6 separate regions of the Homo sapiens genome follow, and all the other regions are linked to region 4. Evidence: promoter capture Hi-C in 16 types of primary human blood cells and fetal thymus (Javierre and others, 2016). All regions are on one chromosome and are shown on one strand. The core of a region is centred on a gene start or on the middle of the fragment in contact, and the rest is flanking DNA. Distances in the headings are between cores, read along the strand shown. Region 1 has its middle 23 kb from the start of CD83. Region 2 holds the start of CD83 (CD83 molecule). Region 3 has its middle 4.9 kb from the start of TBC1D7-LOC100130357. Region 4 holds the start of MYLIP (myosin regulatory light chain interacting protein). Region 5 overlaps LOC107986571 (a long non-coding RNA gene). Region 6 overlaps PHACTR1 (phosphatase and actin regulator 1).

Region 1 (3,348 bases), core at 79-2,578, 2.0 Mb before region 4:
TGTCACAAAAGAGGTGGTTTGAGGAGTGTGTGATGCAAGGATAGGGTAATAATTCATCTCTAGTCTAAATCAGACCTTATTTTGGCAATTTTATTAGTCATCAACTACCGCAATAATGTATAACAAATAATGCCCCAAGTCTCACTGGCTGACGCCACAAACATTCATTTTTTTATTCACAGGTCTGTGGATTGGCAGGGACTCAGCTGATCTTGGCTGGGCTCCACTGGGCATGGCTCCAGGCTCCAGGTCTACTTTGGGCCTGCTTTATATATTTTGTTCTGGAACTGGCACCACCTGGGGCATAGTCTTCTTACGGTGATGGCGGAAATACAACAGGCCAAGTCAAATCATGCAAGCACATTTAAAGCCTCTTTTACATCATTTCCACTAGCGTCTGTTATTCAAGGCAAAGCCTGTGGCTGAGCCAAGCTTCCATGGGGTGAGGAAAAACACTGCACTCATTCTAGTGAGAGCCACTGCAAAGTCACATGGCAAAGGTCACGGGTGTAGAATTCTGTAACAGAGAGAGAGTGAAGAATGGGAAACAAAAATTCAATGTACCCCAGTCACATTTTTGAAAAAAATAGTGGAAAAATTGCAAACAGTATAGATTAAAAAAACAACAACAACAAAACCTGCACAGTACAGGAACCAAGTGAAGAATGTAGGTGGAGATAATTGTGTTTAGCTGGCCTGAAATGAAAAGACTAATAGTCACTTCCACCACTATCTTTGAGTTTGCAAGTTTGTGAGGGGCCTAATGCTGACTAGTGGACCCTCCTGGCTGAAAAAAAAAAGACAGTAGACTGGAGTTAAATGAGAACTCAAGTTGCGAGAAAAATCTTCCCTCTTTGGGAGATAAAGCCCTGGCAGCAAGAACTGAAGGAGGTAGAGTACTATTTCTGCATCTTCAGGGAGAGCTGCAAGGAGAGGGAGCTGTGTCTTGTCTCACTGAGGTGCCTGGACAAGATGAACATTTCAGGTCTTTTTCAGTTCTAGGTTTCTATGATGTCAGTGCTACTTCCCTTTCCAAAACCCCACAGTGGCCAGGCATCACAGTGCCACAAGTGAAAAGACCCATGACTGCCTTTATAAGTAAGTTCTTCTTTTGGTTTCTCTGGCAGGAGGCAGATGGAGGAGGAGAGAAAGGCCAGAGGTCTGTTTTGGGGTTGTTGTCTCTGGTTGTCTAAGTCATGCCAAGACACCACCCCTTGGAGCCTGGTTCCTGACATCCGGCAGCATGGCATACTTGAAGGGCATGATGTGGGGATAACAACAGAGCCCTGGCTGAGTCCGGTGGCTCACGCCTGTAATCCCAGCACTTTGGGAGGCCGAGGCAGGCGGATCACCTGAGGTCAGGAGTTTGAGACCAGCCTGGTCCACGTGACAAAACCCTGTCTCTACTGAAAATACAAAAAAAGTTTGCCGGGCATGGTGGCACACACACACACACGCACGCACACACACACACACATGCCCCCATAAGCATCCCAGTATTTGGAAGCAATCAGTTGATTTTTTTTCTTTTTAGAATTCAGTTTGGTGTTATAGGGACACTGCTAGCCTCAGGCAGTGCCGCAAGAGCAGATCAAGGCTCTGATTAAAAAATTCCTCAGTTGCTCCCAGCTGGAGATGTCTGCTTACAAAGCCCTTACAAAGAAATGTTTTTCAATAGGCAACATTCTCTGGTCTGGCCCCACCAAGGAAGTACAGCAGGAAATCTCACAGGCATCCCGATTGCCATTGCCCTCCTGCTCCCAGACACACACTTGGCCCCAACTGGCCTCTGACATGCTCCATGGGGAGCAAAATGGACTTGCTCCATTTTATCCATTGCTCTGGGCTCCACGGTGTTAAGCATGATGGCTTGGAAACTCTATATACCCAGTAAATGAATGCTTGTTGAATAACTTAATGAACACACCCCATGTCAGCCTATCTCCTCAATGCACATCCGCCAGCCACCTCAGCTCAGGCACCTCGCTGATTTTCAAAACATGGGCTAAAAGCTACCATAGGGCATCTAATTATACCTTCTGGTGTAGAAGGTGTTCTCTCATAGGAGGCCTTAGCCAAGTTTGAGAACAAGGACTTTGTATGGAATGAGCTGCATAATGGACAGCACTGGCTGGACCAGCCATTGGGGGTGTCTCTGGCTGAAATTTAACAAAGTTTCCATAGACCTTTTACCAGATTTACTGAGAATGTTGATTTCCTCTATTAAAGCTTAAACGTCAATTCAGGGGAATTTCCCCATAAATGTTGTGAGACTAAACGTGGCTTCTTGTGGGTTCCACATGGGAGCTCACCAGGATGTTGCCCAGCCTTTGTAAAGGTCTGCCTGGTTTCCTGTACCTAGTGGTCAACGTCAGCAGCTGTACCTGTGCCCAGCATTGGGAGGCTCGTCCTCGGCCCTCACCCGGCCATAGGCAGTCAACATCACTAGTTCTCCCCTGCTTAGCACCCAGTGGCTGCCTTTTTGGCCTCTAAACTTGCTTCCCTGTGTTCTTGATCCCTGAAGCTCACCACTGGTCCACCTGCCAATTACTCACTTTAATCTTATCAGAGTAGATACCCAGGTTTTACATTTCACCCAACAGAACTTGAGTCCTAATTCTCATTTCCTTCCTTTCATCCATGAGCTTTACATGGGAATTTGCATTTACAGTTATGCCTGTGAATTCAGAGGCCTCCCCTGGACCAGGCGGTCATGTGCTGAGTGAGGCGGGTGACCAGCTTGGAAGCCAGGGCGGGAAGTTCGCATGGCCCTCTGGGTGAATCCTTTGCTTCCCTGCTTTGGAAGACAGCTGGCTGCAGAGCAAGAGTTCTCTTGTGTGAGGCCCATGGCAGTGTCGGACCCTAAATGGCCATTGGAACACACCCCCAGGTTTCTAGCTGCACTGGGTAGGGGTGGGTGAAGGAGAACTGAGGGCGCGTCAGCCTCTCCTGCCTGGACAAAAAGGCATGTAGGTCACAGTTCTCCCCAGGTGTTCTCAAGTCTTGCTTGTTTGTTGTCAAGAGAAGGCAGAATTCTGCCTTGAAAAAAACCTCTGTGATGGCCATTTAAACAGCCTGTGGATTGTTTCCAGGCCTGAGCACTGCTGGAGGAGGATGCTGGCTTACAGAGGCCTCTCCAAAGCATCAGTCTTTGGACTCCCAGGAGCACTATTATTAGCCTCCCTTCACATTCAGAAGGCGCCCACCCACAAGAGTGGGTGGATATCAGGGTCTGGGCCCACATCTTCTGACTCCAAGTCTGTGTATCTTGCTACCATGCAGCTGATTTCCCAGTTGCTGAGTTTTCTCTGTGCACATCTTGATGGCTGATACCTGTAATAACAGAAA
Region 2 (3,418 bases), core at 1-2,500, 2.0 Mb before region 4:
TGGATGGACAAAGATAGAAAGGTTGGATAACAGTTTGTGTTGGCAAACAGGCACTCTCTTTGCAGATGGGAATATAGATTGAAGACACCTCCTTGCAGGTAATTTTTTGGCAATATTTGACAAAATTGGAAACTCCCCTTCACCTAGCACAATTTCCTTGAGGTATTTATTCTAAGAAAATAAGCAATTTTAGAGCAAAGATTTATCTACACTGAAGTTTCCCATAGCAATCACAGTATTGTTTCTAATATTAGTAATACAAAAAGAAACAACCTGTATGTCTAACACTAATCGATTCTAATTTATGGTGCAACTGAACAATGGACCAAAATGATGCTGTTGGAAGTTTTTAATGATGTGGAACCGCTTGCAAATTATTAAGCTAAAAGAAAGTAGGTTACAAGATAGCAGGAAGAATAAACCATTAAAAATACCAATCTGTGCACTGACAAATGTTATAAATATTTTACGTTATGTTATGTTATAAACATTTTATAATATAAAAAAATGTTAACTGAAGTTACTTCCTGGATGAATTACAGGTGATTTCATTGTCTTCTAGAATTTTCTTTTCCAAAAATGTTGTGTATGCGTGTAATTATTATTTTAATAGGAGACACTCTCCTTTGGTGATATAATTTAAACAGGACGGTACTGACTGATAACCTCCCGGGGAAGGCAGGGAGCCAAGTACTACAGACTTGTATGTTTCCATGGAAATCTAACGCGCCTTTGATTATCACAGATTCTGGAGAAGAGTGAGGACTTGGGTTCACCAGTGCGTTCCCAAGGACAGGCTGGGCTTCTGAGGAAGTTGCCCACCCTCTCGGAATCTGGTTTGGCCTCCGTAAAATGGGCAGATCCCGCTCGGATGGCCCGGTTCCCGGCTTCCTTTTGCGGGTCAACGGCAGCGTCACGCGCGCGAGCGCGGTCTGCAAAGCCCCCAGCGCTGGGCGTCACGCGGGGATTGCTGTCGCCGCTGCCAGCCGCAGCAGCGACGCGAACTCGGGGCGCCCGGCCCGGGCGCGCGGGGGCGGGGACGCGCACGCGGCGAGGGCGGCGGGTGCGACGGGGGCGGGGACGGGGGCGGGGACGGGGGCGAAGGGGGCGGGGACGGGGGCGCCCCGGCCTAAGCGGGACTAGGAGGGCGCGCCACCCGCTTCCGCTGCCCGCCGGGGAATCCCCCGGGCTGGCGCGCAGGGAAGTTCCCGAACGCGCGGGCATAAAAGGGCAGCCGGCGCCCGCGCGCCACAGCTCTGCAGCTCGTGGCAGCGGCGCAGCGCTCCAGCCATGTCGCGCGGCCTCCAGCTTCTGCTCCTGAGCTGCGGTAGGGCTCGCGAGCGCCTGTCTCGCCTGTCGCCCCCCGCCCCTCCACGACACCCCCTCCCGTCGGTCGCTTGCTCACGACGCGCTCTCTCTTTCTTGTAGCCTACAGCCTGGCTCCCGCGACGCCGGAGGTGAAGGTGGCTTGCTCCGAAGATGTGGACTTGCCCTGCACCGCCCCCTGGGATCCGCAGGTTCCCTACACGGTCTCCTGGGTCAAGGTAGGTGCTGCGATACCCACGGGCTGGGGTTTGGTGGGCTCATTTGAAGACAGCAGGAACCATCTCCCCTAGGCTGGCGACCCTCTGTGGCTGCCAGGTGGGGGCGAGGGGCGTCTCCCGCAGCTGAACTTGGAGTACCCAGCCTCCCGTCGCGCCTCCCCCACCCCATCCGCATCCAGGTACAGGGCCGAATTAGGTTTTGCTCTCCGCAGACCTCAATCCCCTTCCTGTCACTGAAGGTGGCCTGAGATGAATGATCCACTTAAGATGTTTTGGAAGGGCAGAGACTCTCATTTGGATTAATTCTGGAGGCCACCTGTGGTTGTGGGCCAGCAGGTCAGGAAGAAAGCAACAGGGACCTAGATTTGGGCATTGGACAGGGGGAATGTCTCCAGACTTCTGATTTCTTGTGTTTTGTGACTGTGATGCCCATGATACATGGGAGGGGGAGGGGGCAATTTGAAAGGAAAGGCTAAGACACAGAAGTGACTTAGGCCATTTCATCCATGGTAGTTATCAGTGGTCATCTCCTTTGTGGGATACCCTTGGCTTCCTCCCCTAGCCCTCCTCCTCCTTCCTCTGGCAGCCTTGAGAGCATCAGGTGGATGCATGAGCCGGAGCCCGCATGTGTAAGAACAGGCCTTGCTGCTCCTACTGTAAGTGGACTGAGTGACAAGGAGGCTTTTTCAAGGTTTCCTCTTGACTGAAACATTCTCAGATTCTAAGATGGCAATGATGGTGTCATTCCAAAGCCAAGCAGCTACTGTTTGATATCACTGGTCCTTCTTTAAGTCAGGCCACTGCTACCACAGCACCTCCATTTTAACCCAAATGAATATGATATTACAACCTTACTCTGTAGCTCTCACTGATTTGCTGTCTTACCACGGGGGCAAATCTCTGCACTTGTAGCTTTCCCCAAAATGCAGGGCGTTCTTCTGCCCACCATAAAAGATACTATAAGAAACTGTACGTCTTTGGCCACTTAACAGTACAAGGCATCATTGCGGTGATCTCTTTGTGTGTGTGTCTCCTAACTGGATGGTCAGTTCCCTGGGGGGCAGTGGCTGTATCCATACTTCTGTGTATTCTTCACGGCACCTAATTTTTGCCCTATAAATTGCAAAGGTGCTCTGTGAATTCAGCCCAGCACTTCATGAGTTATGCATGACGGGGATGGTGCTGCTGCCTCAGAGCATTGTATTGTGTATAAAAGTAAGGTGTTAAATATTCCTACTTCATTGGTACCTTACTTACTGTGGGATCAGAGAACACAACAATTCCGAAATTGTTCTCATAGTCAAAACAATAGTATTTTTAAAAATATTGTAAAAACAATTTTTGAATGCTCACCACGTGCCAAGCTCCAAGGTAAATATTTACATACATTATCCATTTCCATCCATCGGAAGAATGGACTTAGGGATTAGTACTGTTACTATTCCTACTTTACAGGTGAGGAAACTGAGCCTTAGGGAGGGAAATAACTTGTCCACTTTTGCACAGCTAGCTAAATGGTGGAGTTGGGATTTGAACGAAGCAGTCTGATTCCAAATCCTGAGTTGTTAGAGGTCTATCTTGATCTCTGTTTTCTCCCTTAATAACTTAAGATAAAGAAAATCAAAGTGCCCCTGGGCTAACCAGGCAGGGACTTAGTTATCTCAAAGAACGGGGAAAAACATGAAACCACTATCCCTTCCAGAGAGTAACTATTTAATAAAGAAAACATTATTAATACCCCCAGGGGAGTAATTAAAAAGTACTCATGAAACAAGTAGATGAAATTTCAGGCTGTGAAGTTCAAACAGTTCTGGAGTGAAAGCTTCTTGCACAGGGTCATTTGGAATGGTCCACTAAACCATAGCAATTAACCT
Region 3 (3,281 bases), core at 1-2,500, 2.8 Mb before region 4:
CATTATTAGTCACTGGACTCTTAGCATAACACAGATTATAGAATGGAGTTGTCAGGCAATAAAATTTTGTGGAATTTAATTGAAATAAGACTTGTAAAACTCACAGGTGTACTTCACTGTAACAGGCATCACTCCTTTCTTGTAATATTTCTGCCCTCTAGTGGTTAGCCTTTTTTGCTAAATTATTTTTTAAAAAATGCACCGTACTGCTAGTTACAGAATCAAATCTCAAGGTTGAAAGGGACTTAAAGGTCAGCGAGTCCCATGAAGTGTGGTGCGGAGAGCTAAGCTTCAGGGCATAAAAACAGCCGCATATCTTCAGAAGTGGCATCCTATCTTTCAGCTTCTAAATTTACTTTGGCAGAATAGTAATTGTCACATACCACTGGCCTCAATCCTTGCGCCTCGTTTTCTAGAGATAAGGAAATGGAGATGGAGTGAGGTTATGGCTGTAGGACAACTGTCTTCATGTTGAGAAGCCATTAAAGTGAATGTAGTAAAAATCCCATCACAGCATAATTGGTGAACATATACATTCAGATAGTTCATGGGTCAAACCACATCTCCAAAACATCTGAAGAGAGACAAACCTGGATGGTCCTGGACACTCATTTCTTCTTCATTGTGGTAATTTGGCAGAAAACTGGCTCAGCAGGTCTGTGTTAACTCAGTCAGATAGGCAGAACCACCTCATCACTGTAAATATTTACAATATTAAGGGCATGGAGATCAGTCTTTATTGGAATGTTGGTCACAGCGCATGTAAACCTCTATGCCTGGTCTAAGCTGAGGGATAATTCGATTCCAGGGATGGCATGCACTCTACTACTTTCTGCTTGTATGTTTTTCCTCTAGTAAACCCAAGCTTATACCTGTATCACTTAACACAGTGGTGTGTTTTCATGGCCCTTCCTGAGCATGCATAACTGTACCCCAGAAATATGCTGTTACAGAGAGGAGACATTGGTTCACCTGTCAAAACGGGTGGCATATGTCTTACGTACATGTGATTATAGACTTCCAATACTGTCCTGGTATATAGAAACCTCTGGCTACAGCCATAGGTTTCCTAGTGCGTATGGGGTCATTTAACAAATAATGATTCCGTTAACCACTGATACTTGTCTGACCTCGGCCCTGTCTTCTCTTTTGCATGAATCTTTGATAGTTCTAGTGTCAAAACAGTAGGTACAGTCAGCGGGGTAGAAAAGCAAACTCTATTTTCAGTGAAACTAGAAAATAATATGTCAAGTAGGTGGAGAAGTTTCCAAAAGCAGTGGAAACCAAGCAGGGCACGTGTAGGAAAAGGCAGAGAACGAGAGAGAGGTCCAAAGCTACAGATCTCAGAAATAGCCAGCAAAACACACACTTCTCAAAGGTGAGGGGTTTACCTTGAGAAGCAATATGTATTTCTGTTGTGTGCCATCTTGGGAATAGAACAACCAGGCTGGTGACAAGGGCATCTCACAACCAAGTTAGATTCTGTGATGCAAAAAACAGGTCACTCTTCTAAAGATAACAATGATCAAATCTGGACGAAATATAAAAAACAAGTACTTGCAGGTGTTTTAGTGTAACCGAGAGCAGGTGGATTCTTGTGGGGTGTTGAGCTTTGGAAGAATGGAACAGCACCAGGTAAGCTTCCCATTTTCAAAGCCACTGGTGGGCTCACCCCTTGGCCCTGGGGGTGTGGTGGTTGTTTGCAGGGGCTGTGCCTGAAGCATGGGCCTGCGGTCTGGGGTACCTGTACACATGCACAGGAACTCCCAATCATGGAGGTGGAGGCAAGAGGAGAAGGAGGGCGATGGAACTGGTAGAAAGTGAACAGTTTCCGTATTCCCTTCTCTTCTGTATTGTGGAACGGTATGTATAGATTGGTATTGTCTCTTCCTTGAATGTTTGGTAGAATACACCAATGAAACTATCTGGGTCTAGAGTTTTCTTTGTGAGAAGGTTTTAAACTTTACATGCAATTTCTTCAATAGATAGAGGCTATTCAGGAGATCTGTTTCTTCTTTATTAAGATTTGGTAGTTTAGGGCTGGGCGCGGTGGCTCACGCTTGTAATCCTAGCATTTTGGGAGGCCGAGGTTGTTGGATCACTTGAGATCAGGAGTTCGAGACCAGCCTGGCCAACATGGTGAAACCCCGTCTATACTAAAAATTTAAAAAGTTAGCCAGGCATGGTGGCAGTTGCCTGTAATCCCAGCTACTCAGGAGGCTGAGGTGGGAGAATTGCTTGAACCCGGGAGACGGAGGTTGCAGTGAGCTGAGATGGCACCATTGCCCTCCAGCCTGGGCGACGAGAGCAAAACTCCATCTCAAAAAAAAAAAAAAAAAAAAAAAGATTTGGTAGTTTAGGTCTCTGAAGAAATGTTTCTATTTCATTTAAGTTTTTAAAAGTATTACATTAAATTCAGGAACACAATACATTGTTATTAACTTTAGTCACCATTATGGACAATAGAACTCTTAAACTTATTCCTGCTGTCTAAAATTTTTTACCCTTTGACCAACATCTCTCTAACACCTACCCACCCCAGCCCCTAATAACCTCCATTCTGCTCACTGCTTCTATTAGTTCAATGTTTTGAGATTCCACATATAAATGAGATCATGCAATATTTCTCTTTCTGGGCCTGGCTTATTTCACTCAACATAATAAGTCCTCCAGGTTTATCCATGTTACTGCAAATGGCAGGATTTCCTTCTTTTTAAAGGCTGTACATATATGTACCACATTTTCTTTACCCATGAATATACCCATGATTGGGATATTTCTCACACTGTGAGCTTAGGAAAACTTCATTCCTAAACAGTGGTTGGGATTGTGCCTCCACCAACTGACAGTAGATGTTTATCCATTAATCTCTTGCTGTACACTTGAGTTGTTTCATGCATTGGCTATTGTAATTAATGCTGCAATGGAGATAGGAGTGCAGACAGCTCTTCAGCATACTGGTTTCCATTTCTGTGGATATATACCCAGTAGTGGATTGCTGGGTCATATGATAGTAGAAAAAATTTTAAGAAGAAATATGCCCAAGTAACAATGCATTTGATAAGCGCAACCCAGGTAAGACACAAGAAATGTCATAGAAGTTAAGGTACTCCCTGGAGTGTTTAGAGAAGGCACTATATAGGAAATAGCATTTGAGCTGTGCAGTGAATAATTTTTATAGAAAAGAGTGCCTTTTCAACACAAGAAAGAGCAATCACTAAAACGCAAAGGCAGGAAATGACAATGTGTATGTGGATGATGGGAGCCAGCCTGGCAGCTGT
Region 4 (3,561 bases), core at 918-3,417:
TAGTAAACTGGAATTCAGGGAATAGGCACTGCAGTTAATACAAGAAGGGACTGTTTCAGCCCACAATAGCATGAGGTGTATTTATAAGACAGAAAGATGTGAGAGTGCACCTGTTCCTCTGCAACAGTGGGGGTTAGGACTTGGACAGTTTACAGTTTTACTCGGTCAGCTTTAGCAAAGAACTGTGTGTGGGAGGATCCCTCCTTTTTTTTTAGCCTTGGGCTCTGATATCGTACCTGGTTGTTCGGAAATAAAGGCCACTAACAGATCCTTGGGACTCGTGAAGGGGGGTAGGGACAGGAAAAGTCATCATTAAGCAGTGAAGGCACTGAACTTATAGCTCCCCTTACATACACGGGGACATTCAAATGCTTTTGTGAACGTTATTATCTTTGCTGCGCTTCCCAACAATGCTGGGTGGAGACAGAGCAGATATTGCCATCTCCATTTTACTGTTGACAACACCAAGCTTCAGACAGATGAAGTAAGTTTTCTCTTTTTTTTTCTTTCGTTGTTTTCTTTTTGTTGTTGTTGTTGTTTAGAGACAGGGTCTTTTGCTCTGTCGCCTAGGCTGGAGTGCAGTAGGGGGATCACAGCACACTGCAGCCTCGAACTCCCAGGCTCAAGTGATCCTCCCACCTCAGCCTCCCATGTAGCTGAGACTACAGGCAGGCGCCACCACGCCTGGCTAATTTTTTGTATTTTGTGTAGAGATGGGGTTTCGCTGTGTTGCGAAACCGGGCTGGTCTCAAACTGCTGGGCTCAGGCGATCCTCCTGCCTCGGCCTCCAAAAGTGCTGGGATTACAGGTGTGAGCCATCGAGCTGGCCTGAAGTAAGTTTGCTAAGTTTCCACGGCTGAAACCCACATCATCTGGCTCCTATAAAGAAATCAAAAAGGTAGGCTATGTAATATATTGGCAAAGAGGAACAAGCGGTAAATGAGTGAAGGGTTGTAGACCTTTAATAGCTAATATTGCAGTAATGCCACCTGTTAGGTCAGGAGATGAGCACCTTACCTTAAGACGAGGACAACATCTGGTTGCCTGTGAGAAGGGACAGGCAGGGTATCAGGTGCTGCACAAATGTTTAATGAATGAGTGAGATAAGACAGGAGGTAGAATGAGCAACCTGAGAGAGGGCCTGGTACCCTGTAAGGCGTTTTGATTCAGCAGAACGAGTAAGGAGAAGCCCTTCCGGAGTGTAACACACCAGCACTAGACCAAGACACCTGGCTCACTGGTCAGCTGCAAAAACTTTCATACTCAGATTTTGTTTTTCTCAATGATGAGGTCTTAATAAGGAACAACAATTCTGCCTCCAAGCAACCCACTGTGGCTAATCCTGGTGGAAAAGAGTTTTCTTTTTCTCTTTTTTTTTTCTTTTTTCTTTTTCTTTTCTTTTTTTTTTTTTTTTTTTTTTTTTTTTTGAGACAGGGTTTTTTGCTCTTCTTGCCCAAGCTACAGTGCAGTGACACAATCTCAGCTCACTGCAACCTCCGCCTCCTGGGTTCAAGCGATTCTCCTGCCTCAGCCTCCCAGGTAGCTGGGATTACAGGTGCCCGCCACCACGCCTGGCTATTTTGTTTTTTTTTTTGTATTTTTAGTAGAGACGGGGGTTTCACCATGTTTGCCAGGCTGGTCTCGAATCTGACCTCAGGTGATCCACCCATCTCGGCCTCCCAAAGTGCTGGGATTACAGGCGTGAGCCACCATGCCCGGACGAGAACAGTTTTCTTTAGGCTTTGGGTTGCTCCTTTTCCTTTTTGCTTTCACAACCGAAATGCGTGCTCAGAGTGATCCAAGATATTTGAAGAACAGTGGCAGCTTGGAGGTGTTTAATCACCGTAAATTCGAGACGGCAGAAAGGCGTCCCCGCCTGGAGCCCCGGGCGATCGCTCACTCTGAGCAGCGTCGCCCAGCGGACAGAGGCGGCTGGTGTGTTCCGGGGTCTCCCTCCCTTCCCGCAGCACTCGGCGCCCGCAAGCTGCCACCTCCCGGGGCGGCCAGGGAAACTCAGCCGGCTCTGGGAGGCGGGGGCCGCGGTCGAGGGGCGCCGCTATTGGCTGATCGGGCGGGGGAGGAGGGGCAGGGAGGCCGTGATTGGCGGGGACCCGAGCTGAAGGGGGCGGGGCCGCTATATCAGCAGAGTCCCTGTCGCAGCGCAGGCAGTTGGGCTGCTGGAGTGCGGCGCCACCGCGGAGGACAGGGGCAGCTGGCGGGCAGCGGGTGAGGGGGTGGCGGGGACGCGAGTGGCGGCCGCGGGGCCCCGGACAAGGGTCCGCAGAGCTGCAGCCTTCGAGGGCCAGCCCTCTCCGAGTCCGGGGCTGGGTCCCACCAGTGACAAGGCGGCAGCCCCGCGCACACCAAAGAGAAGGCGGCTGTGGCGGCAGCGGCAGCCCCAGCCATGCTGTGTTATGTGACGAGGCCGGACGCGGTGCTGATGGAGGTGGAGGTGGAGGCGAAAGCCAACGGCGAGGACTGCCTCAACCAGGTGAGGGCGAGGGGCAAGAAGGGGCCCCGGCGGGTCCCGCGAGGCCGAGGGGCCTCGCAGCGACGCCTGGCACTCTGGCGCGCCCCCTACTAGGGGCCGGGAGGCACTGCGGCGGCAGCCGGGGGGAGCGCGTCCCCTCCTCTCCACGGGCGTGGGGCGCGCGGTCTCCTCCTGGCGCGCGTGGGGTGCGCGGAGAAAGCGCGCAGCGGGGGTCCCCAGCGCTGAGGGCCGGGCGCAGCCCGCAGCCGGGATCCACCCCCCAGCGCCCCATCATCCCCCCAACCCAGCACTTTCCCGGAAGAAGGCGGCTCCGCACACCTGCCGCAGGTATGTGCGTGATGCCGCCTGTCGGGTCCCCGCGGCGCCTGGCAGTGCCACCCGCGTGCCAGGATGGGATGGAGTGGCTCGAAGCAGTCTCGGGCCCCAGGGGTTCTTGGCAGACAAGCCGGGCCCTTGTCTCACGCTGCTTCTCAGGCTGCTGCTCTCAAATGCACCGTTCACCTGCATCTCCGGGTTTGCGGGGGACGGGAGGAATAGGTTTGGGTCATCTACTGCTCGGTTGTTTTTAAGCATGTGTTTCCTTAACAGTGAGGGAGATCGGTGCCAAATAGTGCAGAGGTGGTATGGCAGACAGCACATGTGATCCCAGGAAAACGCTGTGCCCTCAACCCCTCTAGCTCTGAGATGTTTGGAAAACCGCTTGTGAAGCTTAGCTGACACTTGTGGCGTGTTCCCTCAATGTGTTTGATTTTTGGAGTCCAAATGGTTAAAATTGCCCAGATAATAAGTCGCCAAAAATCAGCTGTGCAGAGTATGCTGGTGGAGGGAATTCCGGTGATTGGAATACGAAGGAAAATACCCTGTAGTTTCCCCTCCTCATCTTTTGGAAGGCTACTTTTGAGGACTCCTTTTTTCTCTATTGCAATTGGTCATGCCCTAGACGTTAAAAGGAATTATGAGCCTCCATACTAGAGCTCGTGGTTTGGTATCATTGGAGCCGTGGAACTTTGTTTTTCCAGTTTAGATCAGGAATTGTAACACCATTGAACTTTGTAAAAAGCACCAGCAAT
Region 5 (3,240 bases), core at 185-2,684, 2.3 Mb before region 4:
ATATTTTCAGTCCTCATAAAATGGTACCTTATTGTGATTTTTAACATAACATTTCCCTGATGCCTAATGATGTTGACTAACTTTTCATGTATTACTATTACCAGCCATATTGAATACAATAACATATGTAAAGCACTTAGCACAGTGCCTGGCCTATGATAGGAGTATAATGAATGTCAGTTCTAACTACAGGTTGGATAGCATCCACTTTTCCTTGGATGTGACACCTGTTGTTTTATTTTCCAAAGCATTCCCTTTCTTTTGGTCTCAGCACCCTAGTTTTCCATGGGCAGTGGCTCTTCTCTGCTCTCAGTCCATGCGGTTTGGAGAGACTGATCGCTCTGCAGACCACAGGCATGGGCATGTCACCCAATCAGAGTTAATGAGCAGCCGGGCGCGGTGGCTCACGCCTGTAATCCCAGCACTTTGGGAGGCCAAGGAGGGCGGATCACTTGAGGTCGGGAGTTGGAGACCAGTCTAGAGAAACCCCGTCTCTACTAAAAATACAAAATTAGCTGGGTGTGGTGGCACATGCCTGTAATCCCCGCTACTTGGGAGGCTGAGACAGGAGGACTGCTTGAACCCAGGAGGTGGAGGTTGCGGTGAGCTGAGATTGCACCATTGCACTCCAGCCTGGGCAACAAGAGTGAAATTCCATCTAAAAAAAAAAAGCTTCAATTCTAGGATTCTTTTTTTGTTTGTTTATTTGAGATGGAGTCTCACTCTGTTGCCCAGGCTGGAGTGTGGTGGCTCAATCTTGGCTCATTGCAACCTCCACCTCCTGGGTTCAAGCGATTCTCCTGTCTCAGCCTCCCACGTAACTGGGATTACAAGCAAGCACCACCATGCCCAGCTAATTTTTGTATTTTTTAGTAGAGACGGGGTTTCACCATGTTGGCCAGGCTAGTCTCAAACTCCTGACCTCAAGTGACCTGCCTGCCTCAGCCTCCCAAATTGCTGGGATTACACGTGTGAGCCACCACGCCTGGCCCAATTCTAGGGTTCTTAATAGGAACTATTGGGAAGAGGTCGTCTTATTTTATTGTGATGTCTAGGTATAGGATGATTTGAACCATGAGCTCCTGGGGCTACCATGTGGCCTAAGACTAAAGCCCTTATGAAGAAAAGAAGACTGAGAAATGAAGAGACGGGTCCTTTTGAGCGTCTGATTCTAGCTTAGGCTGAAATTGGCATTTTATTTATGTAATCCAATAAGTTGCTTTTACTTAAACCAGCTGGGATAGGGCTTCTGATTCCTATCCCGGATACATTAGTGTACATTAGGATAATCTAGACATGTTAGACTTCTGTCTATGTATAGAGAGACTAGATACAGGAATCTAATGGCCAATGAAGAAGAAGAAGTATCAACTAATTAATGGATCAGGCAGGAGCCAGACAACCCCCATGTGAACCATGACAAAGTTGGACTTTATGACAAAGTTGGATTGGTGAATATACTTGGATCTGGGGCCAAAGTGGGGCCATCTTACTCTCTCTCTGTATCTAGACTTAGGGACCTCCCATGAGTAAAGCTGGATTCACAGAGCAGACTCTGACTTAGCCACCATCTGTGAGAAGTTTAGGTGGCCTTATATATTCTAGGTGTCATCAGGAGAAAAGAGATGGAAGATGGCCAGAGCTATCCCTGAAAGATCTACTGGGTCTGTTTTAGCAGGTAGTAACAGAAAGGTCAAGGGCTCATTGTCCCCGGTGCAAGCAGGTCAAAGAGAGAACAAAGGAGTTGGAACATTCCTGGATGTGACCTTTAGCATACTGATACTCTTACTAGTAAACACTGATGGGGGAATGTCAACTTCCACTAATCAAACTACTATTCTCCGTAATTGAAGAGTGTTAAAGGGTGAAGAAAGGATTCTCCTTCTGGGTAAAATGGAATAAGCACACTCCACCCTGTCTTTCCACCTGAATGCAGGCATAAAAGCTGGACAGAATGCATAGAGCCACTATTTGAGGACTCTGAAAAGTAAATAATAGCAGGCACATCAGTGAAGAAGACAAAAATCAAAGTACCACTGAACTGATGTTTAGTTTAGTATTTTTTCCAATGTATGAGCTCCCCTAGCTTGAACTGTCAACCCATAGTTCTATTACTAGCAAAAATATCCTTCAGTAATGAAGTGATGAAATAAAGACATCCTCAGATGAAGGAAAACTAAGAGGAGTTGTTTTTAGTAAGCTTGCACTAAAAGAATTGCTAAAGGAAATTCACCATATAGTAGGGAAATGATACCAAAAGGAAACTTGGAGCATTAGGAATAAAGGAAGAGCAACAGAAATGGCAAATACCAAGATAAGTATAATATTCTTCTCCTCTTTAGTTCTTTAAAATATGTTAAATGATAGAAAGCAAAAATTCAAACAATGGTGAAGTTTTTAATGTTTATAGATGTGGTATATAATAACTACAAAATAAAAGGGCAAGGATAAAGAGACCTATATGGTAGTGAAGTTTTCATATTGCACTTACAGTGGTAAAATACTGATTCTAAGTAGAGTTAGAAAAAGTTAAATATGTCTACTGTAATCCCTAGAGCAACCCATAAAGATACTGTACAAAGAGATATAGGTTGGGCACAGAGGCTCATGCCTGTAATCCCAATACTTTGGGAGGCTGAGGTGGGAGGATGGCTTGAGGTCAGGAATTCAAGACTAGCCTAGGAAACATAGTGAGACCCCACCTCTACAAAAAAAAAAAAAAAAAAAAAAAAAAGAAAGCCAGACATGGTGGTGAATGCTTATAGTCCTAGCTACTCAGGGGGCTGAGGTGGGAGAATCACTTGAGCCCAAGAGTTTGAGGCTGCAGTGAGCTATGATCAAGTCAAAACACATAATAGATAAAATGTAATATTAAAAAATGTTCAAGTAACCCAAAAGGAGATAGGAAAGGAGAAATAGAAGAACAAAAAACAGAGATAAAAACTAAAAGCAAACAATAAAATATTAGGCATCAATCTAAACATATCAATAATTACATTAAGTGTAAATGGTCTAAATCAGTGGTTGAGGAATGTTTTTAAAAAGCCATATAGTAAATATTCGGCTTTGTGAACCATAAGCAATCTCTTTTACATATTGTTCTGTTCAAAAACAGGTGGTGGGTTGGATTTGGCCCATGGGCCATAGTTGGCCAACCTTTGGTCTCAACATGCCAATTAAAACAGAGAGAATGTCAGAATGGATTAAAAAAAGAAGAAAGCACAGCCTAGTTATATACTG
Region 6 (3,218 bases), core at 487-2,986, 2.9 Mb before region 4:
ATAAAAGAGGTTTAATTGGCTCATGGTTCTGCAGGCTATACAGGCAGCATGGCCCTGGCATTTGCTTGACTTCTAGGGAGGCCTCAGGAAACTTCCAATCATGGAGGAAGGTGAAGGAGAAGAAGGCACATCACATGGCAAAAGCAGGAGCAAGAGAGAGAGAGAGAGTGAGCAGGGAGTTGCCACATGCTTTTTTTTTTTCTTTTTTTTTTTTTGAGACAGTCTCACTTTGTCACCCAGGCTGGAGTGCAGTGGCGCAATGTCGGCTCACTGCAACCTCCACCTCCCAGGTTCAAGCGATTCTCCTGCCTCAGCCTCCCAAGTAGCTAGGATTACAGGCATGTGCCACCATGCCCGGCTAATTTTTGTATTTTTAATAGAGACGGGGTTTCGCCACAAAGTTTTAAATGACCAGATCTTGCAAGAACTCACTGTCAAGAAGCTAGGACCAAGCCATGAGGGCTCCCCATCCAAGCACCTTGCACCAGGCCTCCCCCCGAGCAATGGGGATTACCATTCAACATGAGATTTGGGCAGCGACAAATATCCAAACTATATGAGACATTGAAGCCCATTCCCTATATAGGATGTGTGGTGGTGACACGGGAATGTCACAGAAGCAATTGATTCTGGCCCAGCACAATAAACAAAAACACAAATGACAACAAGCTTTGAATTAAAAATATAGTCCTTTCTGGGAGATTGATTCCAGGACTCCCTTGGATACCAAAATCCAAGGAAGCTCAAGTCCCTTGTATAAAATGGCGTAGTATTTGCAAAAAACTATGTGTATCCTCCCATATCCTTTAAATCATCTCTAAATTACTTATATCTAATACAAGATAAATGCTATATCAATAATTTTAGACTATTGTTTTTTGTTTGTTTTTTTTTTTAATATTTTCCGTCAGCAGTTGGTAGAACCGAAGAATGTGGAACTCATGGACACAGAGGACCAACTGTAGTTAGGTTTGGAGACTTCATTGACTTGATATTTTCACTCTAGGATCTCTCTTTAGATTTCAAGATGTGAACATCTTGCCGACTATAGACACCAGTTTCTAATACCCAAGGAGGGACTGCAACTTCCTCAACTAGGAGAGCATCATTTCTACCCCTTAGATCCCAATAGAGGAGTCTGAGAAGCCTAAAATTTCTTCTACAATGATTCAGTTTCTCACACACCTCATCCCAATGGGTGAAGTGGAATGCCGGATAATTGCAGGTTGTTAAATAATTACCAAAAGCTTCAAAGGTACAGATGTCTCTGTTCCTGCTCAGGCTCCTGAGTCCGTGTCAGTCATTCCTGGGACCTAATGCAGGCATTCTCCCCTCAGATGCCATGCCCGTTCCCTGGCTACTTCTGTCACTACGTGCCATCCACTGCCTGTCCCGCCTCCACCCATTGCGTCATTGCAGGCTCATGCCCTGGCTATGATGTTTCATGTACGGTGGCTAAATTTCACGCCTGGCCACAGAAGTATCATTTCTGTGCCTTTGCCACTCATGTCTTCTAAGCCTCCGAAATAAGAGGAGCAGGACCAGAAGAAGAGCAGCCATTGTTCTCTGCAGACAGACACATTCTCTCACATGTCCCCGGGGCCACAGACCTCTTTATGTTCTAACTGGGTCTGCACAGAAGAGGCAGGAGACAGGCTTTAGCCTCAAGGGAGGGAGAGAGAGGCAAGAGGCCACAGTCCCCAAGTTAGGAGGCCACAAGGAAAGAAAAGGACTTCTGTGAAGAAAAGAGTCCCGTCTGAGTTGCAGTCCACTTGCCTGGGGCCACTGGAGGAGATGGGGCTGGGGAGGGGCCGCTGCAGGGAGGAGGGCGGGGGTCAGCGGCTGTGACATGACGCACGTGCCTCTCCTGGGCTTGAAATTGAGGAACTGAGGAGGCGGTGGTGGCGAGAGTCAGTCTTTCAGAGCACAGGATGGAACAAGAACTCCAGCCACTGACTGTCTCATGTATCTGCAAGGGCCGAGGAAATTAATGACCCAAGGAGGCTATGATATGGTCCAAAAACTTTTCCTGGATTTTTTCCGTAGGCGGCTGAGCCAGAGGCCAACTGCAGAGGAACTGGAACAGAGGAACATTTTGAAACGTAAGTGACTAAGCCCATGGCAATCCCTGATGTTTTGTGGCGGCTTTTGTTATTATTTAATGGTAGGCCACAAGGTTTCTACCTTGCGCCTCTGCGGAAAGCATTGAAAACCTTTCTAACGGTTGAAGCTTCATGTGTGCATGTTAGAACACCAAAGACGACCTCCCCAAAGAGAAGGCAAATTTTATTCCACTTTATTCTTTAGAAGCTCACGGGCGGCAGGCAGAACCTTCCTTTTAGTGAGTTGTAAAGTCAGAGAGAAGCTGAAAAATTAGAGTGAGACCACTTATTATTTAATGATTTTTAAGAGCAGGGTCACCTTTAAACCAGAATTGGCTTGAAAATGGAGACTGTGATATGCACGGCTAAAATAAGGGAAATGTCCATTTGAACTGAGACTAGAAAGCATGACTTTGCATTGCAGCTGGCTGCTGTTGATAAAAATCCCTCATCCCTTTGAATGTTAAATTGAAAGACTAAGAAAGCATTTCCAAGTGAAGTGCTTCATGTCTGTCTCTCAGGATTCCCACAGCTGGTCCCGGGCATGCCTGTCTGATGCTCTCATTCGAGGAAAACTGCCTTTCACCATTGCTGCAGACAGAAAAAAATAAATGAGCCCCTTGTTTGGTTTAGGACACAGAGACATTTGAATATGTACAGAGGATCCACTTGGTGCTTTAAAAAAAAAAAGAGAAAACAGGATACAAAATACTAAAAGAGATCAAGCATTTGATGGACAGCAGTATGCGTCAGTTTAGTGGTAGATATTAAATAACTTAAATATCAAACCATTCTATTCATTCATTGCTACCATTCTCGCCAACACTGGCCTCAAGATAGTGAACAAATATTTCTGGCTTAATTCATGACCCTGTTCCCCCTACCCCACAACACACTTCTAATTTCTCTCCAGAAGAGAAAGATATATACTATGCAGAGTTTTCTAGAAATGCTATGTTGTACAGACTGACTCCTTGCCTCCCCCGGCCCCCCCGCCCCGCCCCGCCCCGTGCCCAGTAAATCACATGCAACCGCAGTGTGAGTTTGCCGGGAATTTCCACTGAAACCACACTAAGATATTCTTGACTTTACCTTTCTACCGTGCTCACTGTGGCC

The links. Contacts are between HindIII fragments. The CHiCAGO score rates a contact against its expected background, and 5 or more counts as called.
Region 1: a fragment that was not itself captured here is called in contact with the fragment with the promoter of MYLIP in region 4 in 1 of 17 cell types (naive B cells); the score reaches 6.0 in naive B cells.
Region 2: a contact is called between the fragment with the promoter of CD83 here and the fragment with the promoter of MYLIP in region 4, in 1 of 17 cell types (fetal thymus). The highest score is 10.5, in fetal thymus.
Region 3: a fragment that was not itself captured here is called in contact with the fragment with the promoter of MYLIP in region 4 in 1 of 17 cell types (fetal thymus); the score reaches 6.6 in fetal thymus.
Region 5: a contact is called between a fragment that was not itself captured here and the fragment with the promoter of MYLIP in region 4, in 1 of 17 cell types (fetal thymus). The highest score is 7.6, in fetal thymus.
Region 6: a contact is called between a fragment that was not itself captured here and the fragment with the promoter of MYLIP in region 4, in 1 of 17 cell types (total B cells). The highest score is 6.2, in total B cells.

Annotation. Positions count from the first base shown.
Region 1 is chr6:14,093,277-14,096,624 of GRCh38, forward strand. No RefSeq gene overlaps it. Among named protein-coding and RNA genes, the nearest start is that of CD83, 23 kb to the right of the region's middle. RefSeq lists enhancers at 1,059-1,188, 2,082-2,211 and a cis regulatory region at 2,060-2,560. The HindIII fragment of the contact is 1,797 bases long and covers 431-2,227 here.
Region 2 is chr6:14,116,522-14,119,939 of GRCh38, forward strand. It overlaps CD83 (CD83 molecule), which reads left to right and starts at 1,251. Exons shown (of 5, transcript NM_004233.4): 1 at 1,251-1,327; 2 at 1,429-1,544. The coding sequence starts at 1,291. RefSeq lists silencers at 577-871, 999-1,118 and cis regulatory regions at 614-1,522, 862-1,678, 862-1,517, 1,683-2,183, 1,754-2,580 and 1 more. The HindIII fragment of the contact is 8,136 bases long and covers 1-3,364 here.
Region 3 is chr6:13,331,813-13,335,093 of GRCh38, forward strand. No RefSeq gene overlaps it. Among named protein-coding and RNA genes, the nearest start is that of TBC1D7-LOC100130357, 4.9 kb to the left of the region's middle. The HindIII fragment of the contact is 775 bases long and covers 864-1,638 here.
Region 4 is chr6:16,126,919-16,130,479 of GRCh38, forward strand. MYLIP (myosin regulatory light chain interacting protein) reads left to right here and starts at 2,168. Exons shown (of 7, transcript NM_013262.4): 1 at 2,168-2,491. The coding sequence starts at 2,405. RefSeq lists a silencer at 1,850-2,849. The HindIII fragment of the contact is 2,730 bases long and covers 468-3,197 here.
Region 5 is chr6:13,816,785-13,820,024 of GRCh38, forward strand. The region is part of intron 1 of LOC107986571 (a long non-coding RNA gene); the gene reads left to right. Among named protein-coding and RNA genes, the nearest start is that of MCUR1, 3.8 kb to the left of the region's middle. The HindIII fragment of the contact is 1,528 bases long and covers 671-2,198 here.
Region 6 is chr6:13,270,814-13,274,031 of GRCh38, forward strand. It overlaps PHACTR1 (phosphatase and actin regulator 1), which reads left to right. Exons shown (of 15, transcript NM_030948.6): 11 at 2,047-2,102. All of the region lies in intron 8 of TBC1D7-LOC100130357 (TBC1D7-LOC100130357 readthrough), which reads right to left. It also overlaps a transcript of LOC100130357 not described here. Among named protein-coding and RNA genes, the nearest start is that of TBC1D7, 56 kb to the right of the region's middle. RefSeq lists enhancers at 1,667-1,766, 2,478-3,218. The HindIII fragment of the contact is 983 bases long and covers 1,246-2,228 here.